Linked DNA regions of Homo sapiens: region 1 is linked to region 2. Evidence: promoter capture Hi-C in 16 types of primary human blood cells and fetal thymus (Javierre and others, 2016). All regions are on one chromosome and are shown on one strand. Each heading gives the region's core, a stretch centred on a gene start or on the middle of the fragment in contact. The rest is flanking DNA. Distances are from core to core; before and after follow the strand shown. Region 1 holds the start of GP6 (glycoprotein VI platelet). Region 2 holds the start of CACNG8 (calcium voltage-gated channel auxiliary subunit gamma 8).

What was found. The method cuts DNA at HindIII sites, captures the fragments that hold promoters and counts their contacts. A CHiCAGO score of 5 or more calls a contact.
Region 1: the fragment with the promoter of GP6 here is called in contact with the fragment with the promoter of CACNG8 in region 2 in 1 of 17 cell types (monocytes); the score reaches 5.1 in monocytes.

Annotation. Positions count from the first base shown.
Region 1 is chr19:55,035,978-55,041,441 of GRCh38, forward strand. It overlaps GP6 (glycoprotein VI platelet), which reads right to left and starts at 2,287. Exons shown (of 8, transcript NM_016363.5): 1 at 2,226-2,287. The coding sequence starts at 2,259. The region is part of intron 2 of GP6-AS1 (GP6 antisense RNA 1); the gene reads left to right. It also overlaps a transcript of RDH13 not described here. The HindIII fragment of the contact is 26,016 bases long and covers 1-5,464 here.
Region 2 is chr19:53,959,974-53,965,699 of GRCh38, forward strand. CACNG8 (calcium voltage-gated channel auxiliary subunit gamma 8) reads left to right here and starts at 2,964. Exons shown (of 4, transcript NM_031895.6): 1 at 2,964-3,452. The coding sequence starts at 3,170. RefSeq lists enhancers at 94-994, 1,805-2,325. The HindIII fragment of the contact is 5,876 bases long and covers 1-5,726 here.

The sequences.
Region 1 (5,464 bases), core at 1,037-3,536, 1.1 Mb after region 2:
CAGGAGAATCACTTAAACCCGGGAGGTGGAGTTTGCAGTAAGCCGAGATCACACCACTGCACTCCAGCCTTGGTGAGAGAGCGAGATTCCGTCTTTAAAAAAAAAAAAAAAAAGTCTTTTGCAGCAACTTGGATGGAGCTGGAAGGCATTATTCTAAGTAAAGTAATACAGGAGTGGAAAACAAAAATCTGTATATTCTCACTTATAAGTGAGAGCTAAGCTGTGGGTATGCAAAGGCATGCAGAGTGATGTAATGGACTTCAGAGACTCAGAAGGGAAGGGCAGAAGTGGGGCAGGGATGAAAAACTACACATTAGGTACAAGGTACACTAGTCAGGTGACAGGTGCACTAAAATCTCAGAATTCACCAGAATATAATTCATCCATGTAACCAAGAACCACTTGTATCCCAAAAGCTACTGAAGCAACAAGCCAGATGCAGTAACCTGTACAGGCCACACCTGTAACCCCAACACTTTGGGAGGCCGAGGTGGGTGGATCGCTTGAGCCCAGGAGTTCAAGACCAGCCTGGGCAACATAGCGGACCCCCGTAACTAAAAAAATTACAAAAACAAGCCAGGCATGATGGTGTACAACTGTAGTTCCAGATACTCAGGAGGCTGATGGGGAGGCACTGGTTGAGCCTGGGAGGTTGAGGCTGCAGTGAGCCATGATCATGCCACTGCCCTCCTGCCTGGGTGACAGAAGTGAGGCCCTATCTCAAATAAAATTAAATAAATAAAAGTTAAAACAGGCTGGGTGCGGTGGCTCACGCCTGTAATCCCAGCACTTTGGGAGGCCGAGGCGGGTGGAACCTGAAGTAAGGAGCTTGAGACCAGCCTGGCCAACATGGTGAAACCCCGCCCCTACTAAAAATACAATAATTAGCCAGACCTGGTGGCAGATGCCTGTAATCCCAACTATTCGGGAGGCTGAGGCAGGAGAATCACTTGGACCCGGGAGGCAGAGTTTGCAGTGAGCTGAGATCATGCCATTGCATTCCAGCCTGAGCGACCGACTGAGCGAGACTCCATCTCAAAAAACAAACAAAAAGAAAAAAAGAATACATCCATGGATGGATAATGAATGAGAGGTTGTTTATATTCACAGTTAACCCTCTCATCTCCAGTAATGCAACCATCTTCTTCCTGCTTAGCCTTTTGGAGATGCTGTCCCTTTAGTGGTCAAATTCTGAAGAAATCAGGAAATAATGCATTCGACATGCCCAGCACAAGTGAAGATCAGGCAGCAGAAATGCATTCGACCTGCCACCCATCCATCAGGAGACTATTTACTCCACTACTGTAGGGGATACTGACAAATTAAATCCATACCTAGTCCAGATATCAATTCCACAATTTTTTTTTTTTTTTTTTTGAGACGGAGTTTCGCTCTTGTTGCCCAGGCCAGAGTGCAATGGTGTGATCTTGGCTCACCGCAACCTCCACCTCCCAGGTTCAAGCGATTCTCCTGCCTTAGCCTCCAGAGTAGCTGGGATTACAGGCATGTGCCACCACACCCGGCTAATTTTGTATTTTTAGTAGAGATGGGGTTTCTCCATGTTGGTCAGGCTGGTCTCAAACTCCCGACCTCAGATGGCCCACCCGCCTCGGCCTCCCAAAGTGTGTAAGCCATGGCACTCAGCCTTTTTTTTTTTTTTTTTTTTTTTTTTTGAGATGGAGGCTCTCTCTGTTGCCCAGGCTGGAGTGCAATGCCTGACCTCAGCTCACTGCAACTTCTGCCTCCCAGTTTCAAGCAATTCTCCCACCTCAGCCTCCCACGTAGCTGGGATTACAAGCACCCGCCATCACGCCCGGCTAATTTTTGTAGAGATGGGGTTTCACCATGTTGACCAGGCTGGTCTTGAACTCCTGACCTCAGGTGATCCACCCACCTCGGCCTCCCAAGGTTGAGATTACAGGCGTGAGCCACTGTGCCTGGCCCACATTTTTTAAAAAAGGGGCAACTGCAGTGTAGTAGAACAAAGTTGTGACCAATGCTAGGATACTCTGTTCATTTCCTGACCCAGCCATGAATACACTGGAATAACTCATGCAAAATGCCAGCTCGCTGGCCCCCCGTTTCCCCACCCAACAAATGAAGGGGCTCTTACAGGTTCCTTTTTGTCCTGAAATTCATCACCAATGCAAATTTCTTAAAAATCCTTTGTCTGGCAGTCCATGCCTGTCCTTCAGCATTTCCCAGATCTGACCCTCAGGACTCACCAAGACAGAAGAGGGCGGTCGGGGATGGAGACATGGTTCCTCAGCCCTGTCCTGAGCTCTGTGGCCAGGGAGGGAAGTGGTGGGAGCCTGGGGCACAGGCTCAGGATGTGATGAGGATGAAGAATGCTCTCCTCCCTTCCTCCACCAGCCCCGGCCTTTCCTAATTGAGACTCATCGAGCCGTAGCCGGCTCCTCAGTACAGTGACTTGCACACAAGCTCCAAGGAGCCGCGCTTATCTCCTCTGGCCAGCCTGGCGTTGCACCGTTTGTCCGCCTGCTGGGGCCTGGTCTGTGTTCCCGTGCTCCCATAAACTCCCTGATGTCACTAGGAAAATACGCATCAAAACCACAGTGAGATATGACTTCACACCTTCTGGAATGGCTGTATTTTTTTTTTTTCTTTTGAGACAAAGTCTCGTTCTTTTTGCCCAGGTTGGAGTGCAGTGGCGCCATCTCGGCCCACTACAACCTCCACCTCCCAGGTTCAAGCGATTCTCCTGCCTCAGCCTCCCAAGTGGCTGGGATTATAGGTATGTACCACACCAGGCTAATTTTTGTATTTTTAGTAGAGATGGGGTTTCACTGTGTTGGCCAGGCTGGTCTTGAACTCCTGACCTCAGTTGATCCACCTGCCTCGGTCTCCCAAAGTGCTGGGATTACAGGCATGAGCCACTGCACCCGACCGGCTATAATTTTTTTTAATGGAAAACAGCAGATATTGGTGAGTATGCAGAGAAATTGAACTGCGCGTGCATTGCTGGCAGGGACGTAACATGGCGCCCCTGCTGTGGAAAACAGTTCCAGCAGCTCCTCCAGAAGTTAAACGTGGGATTGCCATAAAATCCAGCAATTCCACTTCGGGGTACACACCTAAAAGAACTGAAAACAGGGTCTCTAACATATTTGTACACAGTGTTCATAGCAGCTTTATTCACAATAGCCAAAAGGTGAAACCACCCACATGTCCATCAACAACAATGGATAAACAACATGTGGTATATACACACAAGGTAATATCAACCAGCCTTAACTAAAAGAATAAAAATCAGCCAGGCACAGTGGCTCACGCCTGTAATCCCAGCACTTTGGGAGGCCGAGGCGGGCGGATCACCTGAGGTCAGGAGTCCGAGACCAGCCTGGTTAACATGGTGAAACCCCATCTCTACTAAAAATACAAAAATTAGCTGGGCGTTAAATTAGCCGGGCATGGTGGCAGGTGCCTGTAATCCCAGCTACTTGGGAGACGGAGGCATGAGAATCGCTTGAACCTGGGAGGCAGAGATTGCGGTAAGCCGAGATCGCACCACTGCACTCCAGCCTGGGCGGCAGAGTGAGACTGTCTCAAAAATAAAAATAAGGCCGGGCGTGGTGGCCCATGCCTGTAATCCTAGTACTTTAGGAGGCTGAGGCAGGCAGATTGCCTGAGCTCAGCAGTTCAAGACCAGCCTGGGCAACACAGTAAAACCCCCAAAAAATACAAAAAAAAAATAGCCGGGCATGGCGGCAGGCACCTGTAGTCCCAGCTACTCCGGAGGCTGAGACAGGAGAATGGCTTGAACCCGGGACGCGGAAGTTGCGGTGAGCCGAGATCGCGCCATTGCACTCCAGCCTGGGTGACAGAGCGAGATTCTGTCTCCAAAAAATAAAAAATATTATAAAAGAATAAATTCAGATACATGCTACAACGTGATGGACCTTGAAGACATTATGCTAAAGGAAATATTCCGGACTTGACAGATAAATACTGCATTGTGCCGCTTATCTGAGGTATCGAGAGGAGTCAAATTCATAGAGACAGGGATTAGAATGGTGGTTGCCAAGGCCTGGGAAAAGTGGGGAGTTACTATTTAATAGGGAGCGCTTAGGTTGAAGATGATGACAAAGTCTGGGGGATCCATAGTGGTGATGGTTACACAACACTGTAAATGTATTTATATTTAATGCCATTGACTGTTTTTTGTTTTTTGGTTTTTTGAGACGGAGTCTCACTCTGTCGCCGAGGCTGGAGTGCAGTGGCGCGATCTTGGCTCACCGCAACCTCCGCCTCCCAGGTTCAAGCGATTCTCCTGCCTCAGCCTCCTGAGTAGCTGGGACTACAGGTGCGTGCCACCATGCCTAGTTGATTTTTTGTATTTTTAGTAGAGACGGGGTTTCACCGTGTTAGCCAGGATGGTCTCGATCTCCTGACCTTGTGATTTGGCCTCCCAAAGTGCTGGGAATACAGGCATGAGCCACCGCGCCCGGCCAGTGCCGTTGACTTGTATGTGCACTTACAGGTGGTTAAAATGAGAACTATCAGGGTGTTGATATCTAAAAACCTCCCTGCCATCATCTTCCCTACATCTCTCATTCAGTGACCATGGTTGAATGCCTGCCACCTTTCAAATATTATGTCAGGCACTCAGTATTGGCAGTTTTATCCATTATAAATGCTTTAAGCTGCATAGAATTTTAAACGTGTTAATAAAAGTAGTTATAAATCTTTAATACATAAGCTGGCTTTAAAATTATTGGTAAAATAAGATTAGAAATGTCTTAAGAATTGTTGGCGTTTTTGTTTGCACTTATTGAACGAGTGGTTTCATGCTTATCCCTGCAGAATACTATGAGATTTGTCATAAGGGTTATAAAACTATAAACCCGGCTGGGCGTGGTGGCTCACGCCTGTAATCCCAACACTCTGGGAGGCCGAGGCAGGCAGATCACCTGAGGTCGGGAGTTTGAGACCAGCCTGACCAACATGGAGAAACGCCATCTCTACTAAAAATACAAAATTAGCTGGGTGTGGTGGCGCATGCCTGTAATCCCAGATACTCAGGAGGCTGAGGCAGGAGAATCGCTTGAACCCGGGAGGCAGAAGTTGCAGTGAGCCGAGATTGCGCCACTGCACTCCAGCCTGGGCAACAAGAGTGAAACTCCATCTAAAATAAATAAAAATAAAACATTTGTTTTTTGTAGAGTTGGGGTTTCACTATGTTGCCCAGGCTGGTCTTGAACTCCTCCTGGGCTCAAGCAATCCACCGACCTCAGCCTCCCAAAGTGCTGGGATTACAAGTGTGAGCCACTGTGCCTGGCCCTATTGGGTCCTTTTAAAAGATACATAAAAAATCAAATGCAACAGTGAAGTCAATCACCCGATGGCAGAAATTGGGGTGCTCCTGGCATGTGGTCGGTCGAAGCCAAGGACACTGCTCAGCATTCTGCAGTGCACAGGACGGCCCCGCCCAGGCGGAGAATGA
Region 2 (5,726 bases), core at 1,714-4,213:
TGGGGGTCCCCAGCTCTCTTCTCCCTGGCAGCTGCTGAACGATGGACTAAGAGTCCCTAAAACCAGATTGTGCCCCAAATTGACAAAATGAAAAGATCTTCGAATCTTTTTTTTTTTTTTTGGACGGAAGGAGAATTTCCCTCCTTTCCCTCCTCTTCCCTTCCCCTCTTATCCCAGGTTGTTAGGGGCCTGGGGTCACAGGCTTACCCCACTGAGAGCAGATATCTGTTAAGACAGGGTAGGTGGCCCTGCTGGTGGTGAGGGGCACCAATTCGGGGAGAAGAGGCCAAGAGATCAAGAAGAGAGGAAACTCAGCATGCGGACAGAAAAGAGAGGAAGGGGCCGGCGCCCAGGCCGGGAGGCTGGGGGTTGCCCTGTCCAGCGGGCTGCTGAACTGTGGCCTGAGGAAGGGCTGTGTGTGGGCAGACGGGAGTTGAGGTGGGGGAGGGAACACAACGTGTGGGGCACTAGGCCCAGTTGCCATGGAGACACCCCCCATAGACAACCTTTTTCCACAGCCCCTCCTCGGAGCAGCCCCAGTCTGAGGCCAGCTGATGGGGGGCAGTGGAGACGGGCAAGCAATCAGGAGGCCAAGGTCACCCTGTACTGGGACCTAGGTTCTGGTTTTTGTTTTGTTTTTTTTTAATCCCCTCTTCGTCTAAGGTTTCCAGGCTCTTAACTATAGTGGGTTTGGGGGAAGAAGTTGAAGAAGCAGTGTGGAAGCAAGTAAGGAGTACATCCCCCAGAGGACAGTTGGGGTGGGGGAGACAGGCAGGGCTGGGGGCATGGTGGTCGGGGGAGAATGTGGAAGAGAGAAATGAAGGAGCCACGGGGCAGCGGGTGCAGGCTGGGAAAGTATTCCTAATTGAAAAGAGAGTTGTAGTCTTGCGGATCACATTTTTCAGAGGGACACAGTCTACTGGGGGGGCTCTTTCTGCATGTGGAAGAAGATGAGGGGCTACAGTGTGTGTTCCTGTACAGGTGAAGTCGTAGAGGGGAGTACTGGGGGGCGTTCCCAAGAAGGGAAGCCTGTGGGGGCCTGCGGAGGGGATTTTCCGGGGCAGAGGAGAACCTGGGAGCTATAGCGGTGGAGCAAGAGGAAGTGAGTCAAGGGAATTCTATATGATGAGAGAGAAGTTGGGGAGGATGCTTCCTGGTACATTGAAGAGAGAGTGGGCTTCAAAGTGAGTTAGGGGGATCTCAAGTTGGGGGAAACAGTGTGCTGAAGATCCCGTGTGATGATGAAGGGCTACGAGGAGGGGATTTGGAGGCAGTGGGAGCTGCTGTGAGTGCAGAGGGGCGGGTGGGTGGTACAGTGTGCCCCCTGCTATGGGAGTACAGGGCAGAGATTGGAATGGTCCTGAGTGGAGAGACATTTGGGGTCTGGAGGAAGCCATTCTTGCGAGTAGAAAATGCCGTGGAACTCACGGAGGAAATTTTTCTTAATGGAGGAGAAAACGATGGTTATGATATGAGTTCGTTTAAGTTGTGGGGGGGGGGGTGGCGGGGTGGGAAGATTCAGAAAACTCTTCTAAAGCAAAAGAGAGGGTGGGGGTTTTCCTGGAGTAAAGGCATAGTATGGGGTGGGGAGTGAGTGGCTTGTGGGGAGACAGTGGGGGCTGTGACAGGGAATGGGCTGGAGATGGCGGGGGGGGGGCAGCTTGCAAACCAGTGGGTCTGATGTTGGGTGCATTAGAATTCCCCAGGGAGCTTTTAAAAACTTACATGCGCAGGCCACACTGCAGACCAACCATGTCGGACTTTCTCAGGTGGGACTCAAACATCCGAATTTTTAAGGTCCTCGGGTGATTTCCAGGTGTGTTGGAGGCTGCCCGAGGCAGGAAGGGGGCTTCCAGGGAGAGGAGGCTGACTGAGGGTGGCTGGTGATTCCGAGTTGCACAAACTGTGAGGGTCAGCTGGGATTTTCTTTTTCTTTTTCTTCTTCTTTTAATTTTTCCTTTTTAGTTGAAGAGAGGTTGAGAGATTTATTTTTTCCTAAGGAGAGGAAACTGTGGGGGACCATTTGGAGTGATGGAATGACAAAAGCCAGACCGGAGGGGGCTCGCGGAGGTTACTCCCACGGAAGTGGTGCTACTCGGGCTTCTTAAGTTGTGGAGACGCTCAGGGAAAAGTTGGGCTGACAGGGAAGGGTTCTAGCGGGTGGAGAGGTGGGGCTTGCAGGGGAAGAGTGGGGAGAGCTGGTGGGCGCCGCATGGTGATGGGGCGGGGGTCGCTAAGGAAGGAAGAACGCGACGGGGGCTCCTGGGGAGGAGGCGGCGGCGTGGGGCTTGGCATCATGGCGGGGGGTGGCTTCCCATGCGATGAGGATCGTGGAGCCCCCTGGGGCGGAGGCGGCGCGGGCTAGGGGCGAGGGCTGTGAGTGTGAGCGGTGGTGGGGACTCCTCCGAGTGGGGTTAGTGGGATGGTGGGACGACTTTCTTGGGCAGAAGACAGGAGTGGAGAGAGATTTCATCTTATTTATTAATTATTAGCGGTGGTGGGGACTCCTCCGAGTGGGGTTAGTGGGATGGTGGGACGACTTTCTTGGGCAGAAGACAGGAGTGGAGAGAGATTTCATCTTATTTATTAATTATTAGCGGTGGTGGGGACTCCTCCGAGTGGGGTTAGTGGGATGGTGGGACGACTTTCTTGGGCAGAAGACAGGAGTGGAGAGAGATTTCATCTTATTTATTAATTATTAGCGGTGGTGGGGACTCCTCCGAGTGGGGTTAGTGGGATGGTGGGATGACTTTCTTGGGCAGAAGACAAGAGTGGAGAGAGATTTCATCTTATTTATTAATTATTATTATTATTATTATTATTATTATTATTTTTGAGAAAGAGAAGCAGTGGAGCCCCGAGTGGAAGGAGTTTCTGGAGCTGAGGCAGGGATTTTGGGGGGGGGGGGGCGGGGACTGGGGGAGGTACCTGTGCCTTCTTCTCCTCTAATGCGAGATCTCGCTCCTTGCCCTCCACCAGCCGCCGACCATGGCCGCGCTCTGACCCCCTCCCCGGCCGCAGCCTCCTCCTCGCCGCCCCCCTCCCCAGCCCCGCCGGCCCCGGGCCCCCCGCTTCTGCCTGCGCTGTGAACCCCCCCCCAGCCGCCGGCACGGCCCCGCCCCCGCTGCCCCGGTGGTGGCCCACGGCCCCCCGGCTGCCCGTGGTCAAACTGGAGTCGCTGAAGCGCTGGAACGAAGAGCGGGGCCTCTGGTGCGAGAAGGGGGTGCAGGTGCTGCTGACGACGGTGGGCGCCTTCGCCGCCTTCGGCCTCATGACCATCGCCATCAGCACTGACTACTGGCTCTACACGCGCGCCCTCATCTGCAACACCACCAACCTCACGGCCGGCGGCGACGACGGGACCCCCCACCGCGGGGGCGGCGGCGCCTCGGAGAAGAAGGACCCCGGCGGCCTCACGCACTCGGGCCTCTGGAGGATCTGCTGCCTGGAAGGTAGGGTGCGGGCGGCCCTCCCCGCAGCCCCCGCCGCTCCCCTCCGAGAGACCCTGAGCCTCCCGGGGCTGCCTGTCCCTGATCCTGGGGCCCCCTTGGGCACCCCTCCTCCTCTGCCAGAGGGGCTTCTGCGCCTTCCCACTCGCGCCCCTGACCTCCTCTCCCCTCCTTCCCACTCCTCCCTGCGTCCTGGCACCCTGCGGAATTCCTCGGCATGCTCCCTCTGCAGCCCCTCTGCCTCTCCGCTGAACCCCCTTATCCTATCTTTCCCTAGTCCGTGTCTCCTGCGCTGCCCCATCACACCCCTGCATCTTCCCTCTCTCCAGTACCTGGGGCTCCTCCTGTTTCATTTCTTCCACTCTGCCCTGTGCCTTTTCTCTTTTTTTTTTTTTTTTTGACAAGGTCTCACTCTGTCGCCCAGGCTGGAGTACGGTGGCACAATCACAGCTCACTGCAGCCTCGAATCCCTAGGCTCAAGCCATCCTCCCACCTCTGCCTCCTGAGTAGCTGGGACCACAGGCATGAGCCACTGTGCCCAGCTAATTTTTTTTATTATTTGTAGAGATGAGGTCTCCTGTTGCCCAGGCTGGTCTCGAGCTCCTGAGCTCAAGAGATCCTCCTGCCTTGGCCTCCAAAGTGCTGGGATGAAGGGCATGAGCCACTGCACCCAGCAGCCTCTTTCTCCCTCTTTCCCGTCAGTTCATCTTGACCCTGCTCCTCCGCTCCACCTGCCCCTTCATTTCCTCTCCCTCGTGCCCCGTGACATCTTCTCTCTCCCGACATTTCCCCCCCAGTCCTCTGAAGTCCCCTGCCTCTCCCGCCCCCTTTCACGGCCCAGTCTTCCGGTCTGTCTCTTTCCCCTTCTCTTTGGCTGCTGCTCCCCTGAAACTTCGTGCCTTAACTCGCCCTCACTCATGACTTTCTCTCTTTTCTGCCTTGTGCTTCTCCTCCTGTTCATCTTTCTCTTCCCATCAGTGCCCCCACCCATGTCTCTCCCACCAGGGTGCCCTCCAACCTCCCATCCTGGTCCTTTCCTCCTTTTTCCTTTAGTGGACTCCACTTCCTCTTCCTCCACTCATGCCTCCTTCGACGTCTTCCTGACTCGATGCCTCAGGCCTTCACGTTAAGGCTTCTCGCTCCTGCCCCTGCTACCTCCTCGGATCTTCGACTTGGTTCTTTTCCTCTGTCCTGTTCTCCCTCTCACAGCTTCTCTCCTAGCTCGGCTCCCTGGCTCTCGACTTCCCCACTTCTCCAAGACTCCTGCCCTCTGCTGTGCCAACCCCTTCTCTCTCCCACTCTTAGCATCAGTATTTCTTTCCTGAGTATCAAGTAGCTGCGGGGCTGGGAAGCAGGAGTCTTGGGTGCCAGTTCTGCTGCATATCTGCCCTGCTGTGTGACCACTGTCTTCCCTCCTGCACCCCAGCCTCACAGCCCTTGTCTGCAACGTGAAGGAGTGGAACCAGCCATCCTGATGCCCCCTTCGGCCAAAAGATTGAAATCTCTTGCTTCTCTTTTTCATCCCCCTCTATTTCCTCTGCCCCTTCTTCCTCTGTTTTGCTGAGTGTTCACGACAAGCCGGGAACGTTATCTCGTTTAATCCTATGAGGTGGGCACCACCTCGCTGTTGGGGATGGGTAAACTGAGGCTCAGAGAAGTGAAGTCACTTGCCCAAGGTCACCTAGCTGAGAAAGGGGCCGAGCCAAGAGCAGAACTCGAATCTCATGGATGGGATTCACAGATGCGCTCTGTCTAGTGTACAAAGTGTTTAAAACTGAAAGCAAAATCTGAATCCATTGCCAACAGTTAAAAATAGGGAGGCTTCCCATTGTAGTTCTGATTTCCGGCTTCTTCTGAGCTGGCGGAAGATCTAGCACAAGCCTGTGTTCTACCCTGACCACGATGGGCCGGATCTGAGCAGCAGCTGGGGGGTCTCCACTTCCCCACAGTCACCTCCATCTGCTCCGTCTCGCCTCCCATTCCTCCCACGGCTCTCGTGATGTTCTTTGCCTCTCCTGTGGAAGTTTGAGTTCATGTCCATTCACTGGTCTGACCAAGTACCAGGCATAGAGCCAAGTGTGAGGGCTCCCATCATGGGAGCCCTAGGACAGCACGTGGCATCTAGTAGGGATGTCATTCATTCATTCATTCGTTCATTCAACGTCCCATTTTTATTGAGTTTATATTATGTGCCAGGCATTGTTCTGGATTCTGGGGCTGCAGCAGTGGAAAACAAACAGACAAAACCTCCTGTCGTTATATATCTTATATTCTAAG